Regions from separate parts of the Homo sapiens genome. Here region 2 is linked to region 1. The links are contacts of gene promoters, found by promoter capture Hi-C in human tissues and cell types (Jung and others, 2019). All regions are on one chromosome and are shown on one strand. Each heading gives the region's core, a stretch centred on a gene start or on the middle of the fragment in contact. The rest is flanking DNA. Distances are from core to core; before and after follow the strand shown. Region 1 holds the start of SLC6A12 (solute carrier family 6 member 12). Region 2 overlaps SLC6A13 (solute carrier family 6 member 13).

The links. The method cuts DNA at HindIII sites, captures the fragments that hold promoters and counts their contacts. A contact is called where the count stands out against the background at its distance.
Region 2: a fragment that was not itself captured here is called in contact with the fragment with the promoter of SLC6A12 in region 1 in 6 of the 25 tissues and cell types used here (H1 embryonic stem cells, IMR-90 fibroblasts, dorsolateral prefrontal cortex and 3 more).

What each region holds. Positions count from the first base shown.
Region 1 is chr12:212,302-218,277 of GRCh38, forward strand. It overlaps SLC6A12 (solute carrier family 6 member 12), which reads right to left and starts at 1,856. Exons shown (of 16, transcript NM_001122848.3): 1 at 1,621-1,856. RefSeq lists enhancers at 1-193, 205-254, 966-1,737. The HindIII fragment of the contact is 37,462 bases long and covers 1-5,976 here.
Region 2 is chr12:244,902-250,942 of GRCh38, forward strand. The region is part of intron 2 of SLC6A13 (solute carrier family 6 member 13); the gene reads right to left. Among named protein-coding and RNA genes, the nearest start is that of SLC6A13, 15 kb to the right of the region's middle. The HindIII fragment of the contact is 4,795 bases long and covers 1,227-6,021 here.

The DNA.
Region 1 (5,976 bases), core at 606-3,105:
AGGCAGCTGTGGCAGGACCAAGGTGGTCTCAAGGGCTGGGAGAGTGGAGGCTTGCTGGGGGAAGGAGTAAATGAAGGGAAAGCCGGAGGGGCGCAGGGGCAGGGAAGCGAATCACAGAATCCAGTTTGGGCCCAGGATTTGGGTTTCATCAGAAATAGGGGAAGTGCAAAAAGAGAACATGAGCTGGTGAACCGACACTGACGCAACATGATTTTTTAAAAATAAAAATGAAAATAAAAAAGTAATCGGGAGGAGCGTAACTTGTGGTTCAGAATGAAAATCCAGAACGGCAGAATGAAAGCAAGAGCAAGTGAAAAGGACAGCTGGCCCCGAGCCGTGGTAACTCAAGAGGGAACACGCTTAAACTGCAGCAAGAGGGATTTAAGTTAGACTCAGGGAAGAAATGGCCCAGAGGATGTTAGACACCAAAACAAGCTGTACTGAGTTCTCCTTTCTGGGCTACTTTTAAAAGGCAAAGGACTACACACCCCACCCCCGCTGTGCCCTTCCACCTCCAGCTTCGGCTGGCCGCCTCTCCAGCCCCTCGAGTCTCCTCCAAGGCCGCCCACCTGCTTTGCTAAGCCGGGACAGGGGGGTGAGGGGTGGGGGATGGGCCTCATCATACTTCAGTGCCCTCCAGAAGCAAACACACCAATTTCCACACCGGGCTTGGTGCTGCCCAGAGAGCAAATCTTCAAGAGACTAGAAAGTCCAAAGTTAAGTCTGTTTTCAGGAGCTGGGCATGTCGCCAGAGGCCCAGCTGGGGCTAGCAGAGGTGCAGACGAGACCAGAAATGCTGCTGCCCATGTGCTGCTGGGATCCCAGCTCTGTCCCCTTTGCTCCCCAGTCCAGCATAGGAATAGCTCAGACCCTGCACACGGGGGGATGGGACACCCAGCCCCTGCTTCAGTCCACACCCACATACCAACACCCATTCCCATACACACACTGGTGCCATTTCCCGTCACGTCCCTTCGCACACACATACCTGTGTGCATGGCACCAAAACCTGGCTCTCTCTGTAGTCCTTCACACCCCGTGAGTGCCGGTCTCAGCTGGTGGCTGCCTGCAACTCCCCTGAGTGCCCCCCTCGGGTACAAGCACACCCATAGCATCCACCGCCCAAAGCCAAGACAGCTTCCTCCTGGGAGGCGCCTGGCACCCAGCTCGTCACGCTCAGCCGGCAGGCAGCGGGCAGGAACCCCTCACCTGTGATCATTTATTGCAGTTCCTGGGCCCTCGGGAATGCCCCGAGGTTTCTCCTGTCCACTTCTCCTTCCACCTTGCTGGGCACCACCTGCTTCCCCTCCCCTCGTCAGATGACCACCCCTGCTTTCACCCACTGCCGTGACCAGCTGCCCATCGCTGGACTTTCCTGCTCCACAGGCTAATCACTGAGCTGCTCCCACGCTGGATGGGGCGGAGCTAGGGGGCACCCCTTGTCCTGAGAGTCGTGGGCATCAGACTTGCCCTTTGGCCTGAGGTTATTGCAGGTCCTGCCCCCCGCTGCAGACACGCAGTTCCACAGAGTCTCGCTTCCCAGGGCTCTATCCCTCCAGCCCCTCTGAGCAGCAGTTGGAGACTGCAAAGACAGAGCCAGCCCCTCCACTTCCCGCTCACCTCAGTCCCCAGCACCGGCTCCTGTGGTCAGCTTGGCTGTGGGCATCAGGTCTCCAGGAGAGTCCCAAGGCAGCTGCTTATGGGAAAGCCAAGAGAGCCGGGACCTGAAAGGGAAACTGCCCTCCACGTTCACGCCTTACCCTGTTCCTCCCAGCGCAGAATCCCATGTGACTTGTCCAGGGACTCCCAGACAGAAAGAAGCCGTGTGTGTATGTGTTGGGGCGGGGGCTGTGTGTGTTGGGGAGTGAAAGGACAGAGAAATACCAGGAGCAGCAGGAGGGACTGAGGCCAAAAGTTTGTGAACCGAGATTACAACATCCAACCTCAGGAAGTCAAGTCCTCTGTCCCCAGCGCTCCCACCCCCATCCCACTCCCACTGTGAACCCACTGTCTCCAGACCGGTGCCCTCCCCGTGGGCACAGTCCCATGATGGCCCCTCCAGAGCTGGGCTGAGCTGCTGCTCCCTTGGGCAGGGGAAGGGGCTCAGAGACTCACACCCTGACCTCATCTCCCCTCCTCCTCCTCCTTGCCCTTCCCCCTTCCCCCTTTTCCCCTATCCCCCTCCAGAACCATCTCCTTCCCAGGGATGAGGAGACGGGTATGTGCAGCACAGGGGACAGCCCTCTCTTACCAGAGACTCCAGGCTATAAACTGAGAACCTTGGGAGGGGAGGTGACCTCACTGACGAGGGCAAGGGAGGAGGGTGAATCACACGCTGGAGTTTTCCACCAAGTACCTGCCCTCTGTGGCTTCTAGGCAAGGCCCTGGACCTTCACAACCCTTCTCCTTGGGATTTTCCTAGAGAAAGCACCCAGAGCGTACCTCAAGAAGCAATGTAGAGAGGACCCAGGATTGGGACCAGACAGACCTGAGTTTCTTCTCCTCCTCTATCATGTATCAGTCACGACAGCTAGGCAAGGGTCAGCCTTGGTTTCCCAGTCTGTCAAAGGTAGGTAACAACACAATATCTACTTTGCGGGGTTGCTGTGAGGGTGCAGGGATATCATAGGTGCTTAAGGGGAGGTGTGGGTGTTTGTTGTGTGTCCTCTGGAAGCAGAGGCTGGGATGGTGGGGTGTCTGGTCCCAGGCACCTCTGGTCACTGCATAGCACCAGGCACCTAGCTAGAATTTGTCTGGAGTGGCCTGCCAGCTATCAATGGGGAAGGGTATTTTTTGAATACATGTGCCCTATGCCGTGTGCCCAGTGAGCTCCTCCAGAACAGCGTCCTGGTCACTGTCCCTGAGCACGCCCACCTGGTGTGGGGTACAGCACTGTCCCACCGCCCTTCATTCAGAATAGCTGGTGCCTCCTTCAAGACAAAGGAGGTGCTTCTTCAGCTCTAGGTGGTATGAAGGGAGAGGAAGTTGCAGGGAGAAAGGGAAATTTCCTTTTACATGTGCTTCCTCTGTGTATTTTAGAACTTCCCAGCAGGGGTGGGGTGTGAAGTGAGACTCTCAGTCTGTAGTTTTCCATCAAGCACCCCCACGATATGTCTCTCGGGCCCCTCTCAGCCTCTCCTGTGGGGTTCCACATGAAGAGGAAGGCAGAGCAGGTCTCAGCTCTCAGACCCATTGCCTCTATGAAAGCAGAAGCCGGGCTGGGGGTCAGCTGTGGCACAGTAGGACATGGCCCAGCCAGAATCCATACTTGAGCTACCCCGGTGCTCAGGTGTGGCCTGTCCCTGCATGTCAGGTCCACCATGGATTGACCACAGAGTTATTGCAGAGGGGACATCAAAGTCCATGTGATCACCTAGCTACAGCTACTCCAGAACAAAACACCAGCCTCTCCATAAAAAGGAGAAAGAGGGGAGAGGATCAGACAAGCCAAGATGGTGAATTTCCTTGTTGGTTCCCTCAAAAATTATATTTAGCACATACAGTGTGACATGCTTTCTGTGAGGATGAACAGCAACAGCCCAGCAGTCCTGTCACCTCTCCTTCACCTTGTCAGAGAACAGCTGCCTGGTTGACCTGGCCCAGGGGGTACAGTTTGACTTTCCCCCAAAAGAGCTACCTGGTCCCTCCCTGTTTTTATCTGACTGCCTCTGGCCTTAGTCCCACCATCTTAATGTTGAGCCCTTCCTCACTCAAGTTTTCCTAGCCTCCAAGACCCACTTGGTATTCAGACCAGTTAGTAAACTTCTGGAGGCCAGAGACTCTCTAATGTTGAGCCCTTCCTCACTCAAGTTCTCCTAGCCTCCAAGACCCACTTGGTATTCAGACCAGTTAGTAAACTTCTGGAGGCCAGAGACTCTCTAATGTTGAGCCCTTCCTCACTCAAGTTCTCCTAGCCTCCAAGACCCACTTGGTATTCAGACTGGTTAGTAAACTTCTGGAGGCCAGAGACTCTCTAATGTTGAGCCCTTCCTCACTCAAGTTCTCCTAGCCTCCAAGACCCACTTGGTGTTCAGACCGGTTAGTAAACCCCTGGAGGCCAGAGACTCTCTAATGTTGAGCCCTTCCTCACTCAAGTTCTCCTAGCCTCCAAGACCCACTTGGTATTCAGACCAGTTAGTAAACTTCTGGAGGCCAGAGACTCTCTAATGTTGAGCCCTTCCTCACTCAAGTTCTCCTAGCCTCCAAGACCCACTTGGTGTTCAGACTGGTTAGTAAACCCCTGGAGGCCAGAGACTCTCTAATGTTGAGCCCTTCCTCACTCAAGTTCTCCTAGCCTCCAAGACCCACTTGGTATTCAGACTGGTTAGTAAACTCCTGGAGGCCAGAGACTCTCATCTTTGCAAAAGGTAGGCATCCTGGAAAGCCTAGCTGAGACTGGGCTGTTTCCACACTGAGGAGTGTGCAGGGTGAAGACGACAGGTAGCTGAATGAATCTATCACCTTTGCTGCAGTAGGAACCACTGGCCACCACAGAATGTTCTCACCACCCTCATCTTCTAATCTCATCCATACTTTCAGAGGGCCTGGAATAGGACTTATTTCCTGAGCATCTAACTCGGACGAGGAGTTTTACATGTTACTTCATTTCATCCCCTTAAGAACTTTGAAATGTAAAAATTATTAGCCCCATTTTACAGACGGGAAACTGGGGTGAATAAATAGAAGCTAAGTGATTTGTCCTAAGGCCACACACAAGTAAGTGATGGTGCTGGGATTTGAACCTGGGCCTCTTGGCTCCAAAAATCTATGCTTGTTCCACTGAAGCATACTGTTCCCCTGACCATGAATATCTATATGTCAGGGGTCTCATTTCATAATTCTTTATTTCTGCCTCTAGCATTTAATACAATTCTGCCTCAGAATAGGCACTCAGTGTTCATTGGATGGAGGATGGATGGATGGATGGATGGATGGACAGATGGATGGATGGATGGATGGATGGATGGATGGATGGACAGACGGATGGATGGACAGATGGATGGACGGATGGATGGATGGATGGATGGATGGATGGATGGATGGATGGACAGACGGATGGATGGATGGACAGACGGATGGATGGATGGATGGATGGAGGATGGACGGATGGATGGATGAACGAGTGGATGAATGGAACTTGAAGGGGGAAAAATGATTACAGTTTTCCCTTTTCTGGGAGGACATTGTTTCCCCAGAATCAGAGGGCTCAGATGACTCAGGTCCTGCTTATCTTGGACAGTACTGCTCTGTGTTGTCACTTGGTGAAGAGTGTGGAGTAGCACCCTCAGGCCACAGGACCAGGATTATTTTAGGACTACGTCTTCCTTGCCTTCTAGTGAAAATGCTTAGCTCGGCCGGACGCGGTGGCTCACGCCTGTAATCCCAGCACTTTGGGAGGCCGAGGCGGGCAGATCACAAGGTCAGGAGATCGAGACCATCCTGGCTAACACGGTGAAACCCCATCTCTACTAAAAAATAGAAAAAATCAGCTGGGCGTGTTGGTGGGCACCTGTAGTCCCAGCTACTCGGGAGGCTGAGGCAGGAGAATGGCGTGAACCCGGGAGGCGGAGCTTGCAGTGAGCTGAGATGGTGCCGCTGCACTCCAGCCCGGGCGACAGAGCGAGACTCCGTCTCAAAAAAAAAAAAAATGCTTAGCTCAATAAATGTGTAGCCTCCTTCCTGGAGCCCAGTGCAACCTAGTCTGAGACTGGGGACAGCAAGGATATCTCTAAACTCTTCCTGAACTTTTCTGTGATGCTGACAGTCCGATGTGGTGGGGCTGCAGCTATGGGAAATAGGATGGGTTTGACTGAATGTGTCCCCAGGGCAGCTGTCCCTATAGCATCTGCTGGACTCTAACAACACTGATGTAAGTAGCAGTATTCCTGTTTTATGGAAGAGAAAACTAAGGATCAGAGAGGTTAGCTTGCCTAAGGTCACACAGTTAGTAAGTCAAAGGGCCAGGATCCAAGCCAG
Region 2 (6,041 bases), core at 2,374-4,873, 34 kb after region 1:
AACTAAGCTAGTAATCTGTCTCCTTCTGTTTTTATAAGCATTGGCGGAGACAAGACTACTGATGCCAGATATACTGGTATTTTCCCTACCATGGACCTGTCATCTGCTGGCAAAGTGGACAGCACAGTTCATAGGACACAGAGTACCAGAGAAGACAGAACTGCACAGACAGGAGAATCTGCAGAGGGTCCCCCTCAAGCTTCCAACTGAGTACTAGTCAGTGCATATGTGTGAGAAAACTGAGGTGAGGGAAAGAACCATTCAAAATGATTAAAAGTAATGGTGCTCACACACTGCCAGAGTAAATAATCTCAAGATTCACCAGGCATTAGGCAGAGTACGCAGAAGGGCATTTCCTCAGTAACGGGGAATAATTATCCCTAGACCGAGCACACTTCTATTGCTACCTAACCAATCTTAAAAGCAAGATATAAAAAGAGCAAGTAACTTCACTGATCCCAGAACAGAGCTAAAGAATATTTACAGAAATACGAAATTGGCCGGGTGCAGTGGCTCACGTCTGTAATCCCAGCACTTCGGGAGGCTGAGGTGGACAGATCACCAAGTCAGGAGTTCAAGACCAGCCTGGCCAATATAGTGAAATCCTGTCTCTACTAAAAATACAAAAATTAGCCTGGCATGGTGGCACGCACCTGTAGCTCCAGCTACTTGGGAGGCTGAGGCAGGAGAATTGCTTGAACCTGGGAGGCAGAGGTTGCAGTGAGCCGAGATCGTGCCACTGCACTCCAGCCTGGGCAACAGAGTGGGACTCTGTCGCAAAAAAAAAAGAAAGAAAGAAAAGGCAGGGTGTGGTGGATTACGCCTGTAATCCCAGCACTCTGGGAGGCCAAGGCAGGCAGATCACGAGGTCAAGAGATCGAGACCATCCTGGCCAACATGGTGAAACCCCATCTCTAGTAAAAATACAAAAATTAGCTGGGCGCGGTGGCTCAAGCCTGTAATCCCAGCACTTTGGGAGGCTGAGGCAGGTGGATCATGAGGTCAGGAGATCGAGACCATCCTGGCTAACACAGTGAAACCCCATCTCTACTAAAAATACAAAAAAATTAGCCGGGTGTGGTGGTGGGTGCCTATAGTCCCAGCTACTTGGGAGGCTGAGGAAGGAGAATGGCGTGAACCCAGGAGGCGGAGGTTGCAGTGAGCCGAGATTGTGCCACTGCAATCCAGCCTGGGTGACAGAGCAAGACTCCATCTCAAAAAATAAAAGTAAAAATAAATAAATAAATAAATAAATAAAATACAAAAATTAGCTGGGCATGGTGGCATGTGCCTGTGGTCCCAGCTACTTGGGAGGCTGAACCAGGAGAATTGCTTGAACCCGGGAGATGGAGGTTGCAGTGAACCGAGATCGCTCCACTGCACTCCAGCCTGGCAACAGAGTGAGACTCTGTCTCAAAAATAAATAAATAAATAAATAAATTATCCAGCAACCCATAAAGCAAAAATATTACCAGGTCTGGTATTCAATCGAAAATTACCAGGAAAGCAAAGAATCAGGAAAATGTTACTCATAGCAAGGAGATTGAACCTGACCCATAATTTACAAAGATGTTAGAATTAGCAGATGAGAATATTTAAAAGTTATTATAACTGTATTGCAAGTGTTCCAAAAGTTAGGGATATAAAAGATATTGAAAAAGACCCAAATAAAACTTCTGAACATGAACACTACAGTGTGTGAGATTTAAAGAAATACATTGGATGGGATTAATGTTAGTAGGCAGAGCAGAAGAAAAGATCAGTGACCTTGAACCATAATAGAAACTATCTAAAATAAAACACAGAGAGAAAAAAGAACATTTTTGCTGGGCATGGTAGTTCATGCCTGTAATCCCCGCATTTTGGGAAGCCGAGGCAGGTGGATCACCTGAGGTCAGGAGTTCAAGACCAGCCCAGCCAACATGGTGAAACCCTGTCTCTACTAAAAGTACAAAAATTAGCTGGGTGTGGTGGTGCATGCCTGTAATTCCAGCTACTTGGGAGGCTGAGGCAGGAGAATCACTTGAACCTGGGAGGTGGAGGTTGCAGTGAGCTGAGATCATACCACTGCACTCCAGCCTGGGTGACAGAGTGAGACTCCATCTCAAAAAAAAAAAAAAAGAAAGAAAGAAAAGAAAGAAAGAAAAGAAAAAAGAAATTTTTTAAAAAGAACAGGTATGCCTAAGTGGTGAGACAGCTTCAAAAAGCCTAATGTAATGGGAGTCTGTGAAAGAAAGAAAAGGGTGAGAAAAAGCTTACAGAAATAATAGCTGAAAATTTTACAAATTTTATGAAAACTATAAACCTATAGATCCAAAAAGTTCAACAAACACCAAGATTAAAAAAAAAATGAAAAAAAACTAGTCCAAGGTGCATCATAATCACATTACTTAAACCGGAATATGGAGCTTTTAAGAGAAAACCTTAAAAGTCACCAGAGAAAAACGACACATATGTACAGACAAAGATAAGAATAACATCAAATTTCTCATTTAAAACAATGCAAAAGAGAAGACAGTGATAAGGAAGCACATTTGCTGAAGCAATAAAGGAGGAGGGAGAAAGCTGTCAACCCGGAATTCTATACCCAGCAATAATACTGTTCAAAAAGGAAAGTGAAATAACTGTTTCTTAAGACATGCAAAACCTGAAAGGATCTACCACAAGTAGAACTGAACTACCAGAAATGTGGAAGAAACTCCTTCAGGGAGAATGAAATGATATCACCAGATAGAAATATGAATCTATACAAAGTAATAAAAAGCTTTAGAAATAGTAATTACATAGATAAACATAGAGAATGTTTTTCTTATTATTCAAATATTTTTTAAAAGATAATTGACTGGTTAAACAAAAATAAAAACAATGTAATATTGATTTTATAACATATAAAAATGTATAAGAAGAGCACAAAGGTTAGGAGGAAAGAAATGAAATTGTAATATTTTAAGGTTCTTATATATAAAGTGGTACATTATCACTTGAAGATAAAGTGTGATAAGTTAAAGATGTATACTACAAAGTTTAAAACAATCAGTAAAATAACACAACAAAGTTACAGCTAATAAGCCAACAAAAAGAAGAAAGCTAACAATGGAATAAGAAAAAATATTCAATTATTCCAAAAAAAAAGCAGGAGGAGAGGGAAGGGGGAAACAAATAACTGATAGGACAAAGAGAAAACAAATAATAGGATGATAGAGTTAAACCTAATTACATGGATAATCGTATTAAATGCAAATGGTCTAAACGTCCCAAATAAAAGGCAGAGATTGTTAGACTGGCTTTTAAAACCTGACAAGACTCAACTATATGCTGCCTTAAGAAAATGCACTTTGAATAAAAAAGACATGAAGAGGTTAAAAGTAAAAGGATAGAAAGATATACCATGCTGGGAGGCTGAGGCAGGAGAAATGGAGTGAACCCCGGGGGGCGGAGCATGCAGTGAGCCGAGGTTGCACCACTGCACTCCAGCCTAGGCGACAGCAAGACTCCGTCTCGGAAAAAAAAAAAAAAAAAAAAAGATATACCATGCTAACACTACTCAAAATAAATCTGTAAAGTTTATCTTAATGTCACACAAAGTAAACTTCAGAGCAAAGAATATTACCAAGGGTAAAGAAGGTAATTTCATAATGATTAAAGGGTCAATTAATCAAGAGGGTCAATTAATCAATCAGTATTTCAAGTGCATATTCACCTAATGACAGAGCTTCAAAATGCACGAAGCAAAAACTGACAGAACTACAAAGAGAAACATATAAACTAATTCCTGATAAATGTTAAAAACGTTAATAGCCCTCTCTCAATAATTTATAGAATAAGTATACAGAAAATCAGTATGGATATAACAGATTTGAAAATTATATCCACCAGCTCAACTTAGTTGACATTTATTGAACATTCTACCCAACAGTCCAACAGCAGAATATGCATTAGTTTCAAATGAACATGGAATATTCCACCAAGATGGGCCCATATCCTGGACCAGAGATCAAATCTCAGTAAGTTTAAAAGCATCCAAGTAATACAAAATTGGTTCTCTGACTAAATTAGAAATCTATCAGAGAAAGACATTTGGAAAATTGCCACCTATTTGGAAATTAGGTAACACATTTCTAAATAGCCTATGGCTCTACTGAAGTAATCAAAAGAGAAATTAGAAAGTATCTTGAATGGAATGAAATGAAACCCAGTATCATAATTTGTGGCATACTGCTAAAGCAGTACCTAGGAGATTTACTAAATGATAAAAGAAGAAAAGTTTCAAATCAATTACCTCGGCTTCCACCTTAAGAAATCAGAAATTATTGCTGAAATGAGGGTGTAGTTAAGAAAAAAAGAAAGAAAGAAATGAGAAGGATAAGAGCAAATGAAAGCCAAAGTAAGTCAAAGGAAATAAAAATCAGAGTGGAAATCAATAAAATGGAAAACAGGAAAGCAACAGAGAAAATCCATGAACCAAAAGCTGGTTCTTTGAGATAATAAAATTGATAAAATTTTAGAAGACACAAATTATCAGCATGACAAATGAGATGTATCCTCAGTAAAGATTCTATAGATATTAAAACAATAATAAGAAAAGATATGAAGAACTTTATGCCAGTAAGTGCAACAATTTAGGTAAAATAAAAAACGTAACTACCAAAGCCCACTCAAAAAGAAACAGTCTGAATAGCCCTATAACTATTAAGGAAAATTCATTTTTGGTTTAAACCCATCCCACAAAAATTTCCAGGCTCAAATGACTTCAGTGGTGAATCCTCCAAATATTTAAGGAAGAAATAACAGCAATTCTACACAAACTCTTCCAAAAAATTGAAAAGATGGAATGCTTACCCAACCAATTTTATAAAGTGAGCATTACCCTGATAATAAAAGCAGACAAATACATTATAAGAAAAGAAAGTTAAAGATCAACATATTTCATGAACATAAATGCCAAAATTCTAAATGATTTTAGGAAATCAAATCTAACAATATGTTAATAGGACAATATATTATATAGTAATGTTTATCCCAGAGATACAAAGTGGGTTTAACATTTTAAAAAATCAACATAGTGTTGTAGTCTCCAGCTGTTATAATAAATGGATAAATAAATAATGTGACTCATCCTGTTAACAAATTACAAAAGAAAAACTATATGATCATTTCATAGGTACAGTAAAGTATTTGACTGAATCCAACAGTCATTCCTAATAAAAACTCCCAGCAATGATGAGGAGAAGAGAACTTCCTCAACTTGATAGAGGGCATCTACAAAAAAACCCTACAGCTAACATCATACTTAATTGTAAAAGACTGCTAAGATTGAGAATAAAACAAGTGTCTATTCTTACTACTTCTATTCAATACTGTACTGGGGATTCTAGCCATAGAATCTAGCCAATAAGGCAAGATAAGGAATTAAAGGTTATTCCGATTTAAAAGGAAAAAATAACACTGCTTTATTCTCAGAAGACATGATATTCTACAATGAAAATCCTTTGGAATGCACACAAAAAAAAACCTATTAGAACCAATCAGTGAGTTTAGCAAGTTTGCAGGATACAGGATGGGCATACACAAATCAATTGTGTATGTATTAGGAATAAACAACCATAAATTAAAATGTAGGAAATAATACCATTTACAATAGCATCAAAAATATTAAATACTTAGGAATAAATCTGACAAAAGTTGTGAAAGATATATGTACACTCACAACTACAAAACATTGCTGAGAGAAATTAATGAAGAGCTAAATAAATGGAGAGTCATACCATATTCAGGATCAGAAGACTTAATATCATTAAAATGTCAATTCTTTCCAAATTGATCTATAGATTTAATACAATCCTAATCAAAAGCACAACAGACTTTTTTGTAGAAATTCACAAATTCTTTCTAAAATTCATCTGGAAATGATAAGGACCCAAAATAGCCCCCCAAAAAAAAAAAAAAAAAAACCTAAAAACAGGGCCTGGCGCAGTGGCTCATTTCTTTTTGGGAGGCATTTTGGGAGCATTCTGGGAGGCCAAGGTGGGTGGATCACGAGG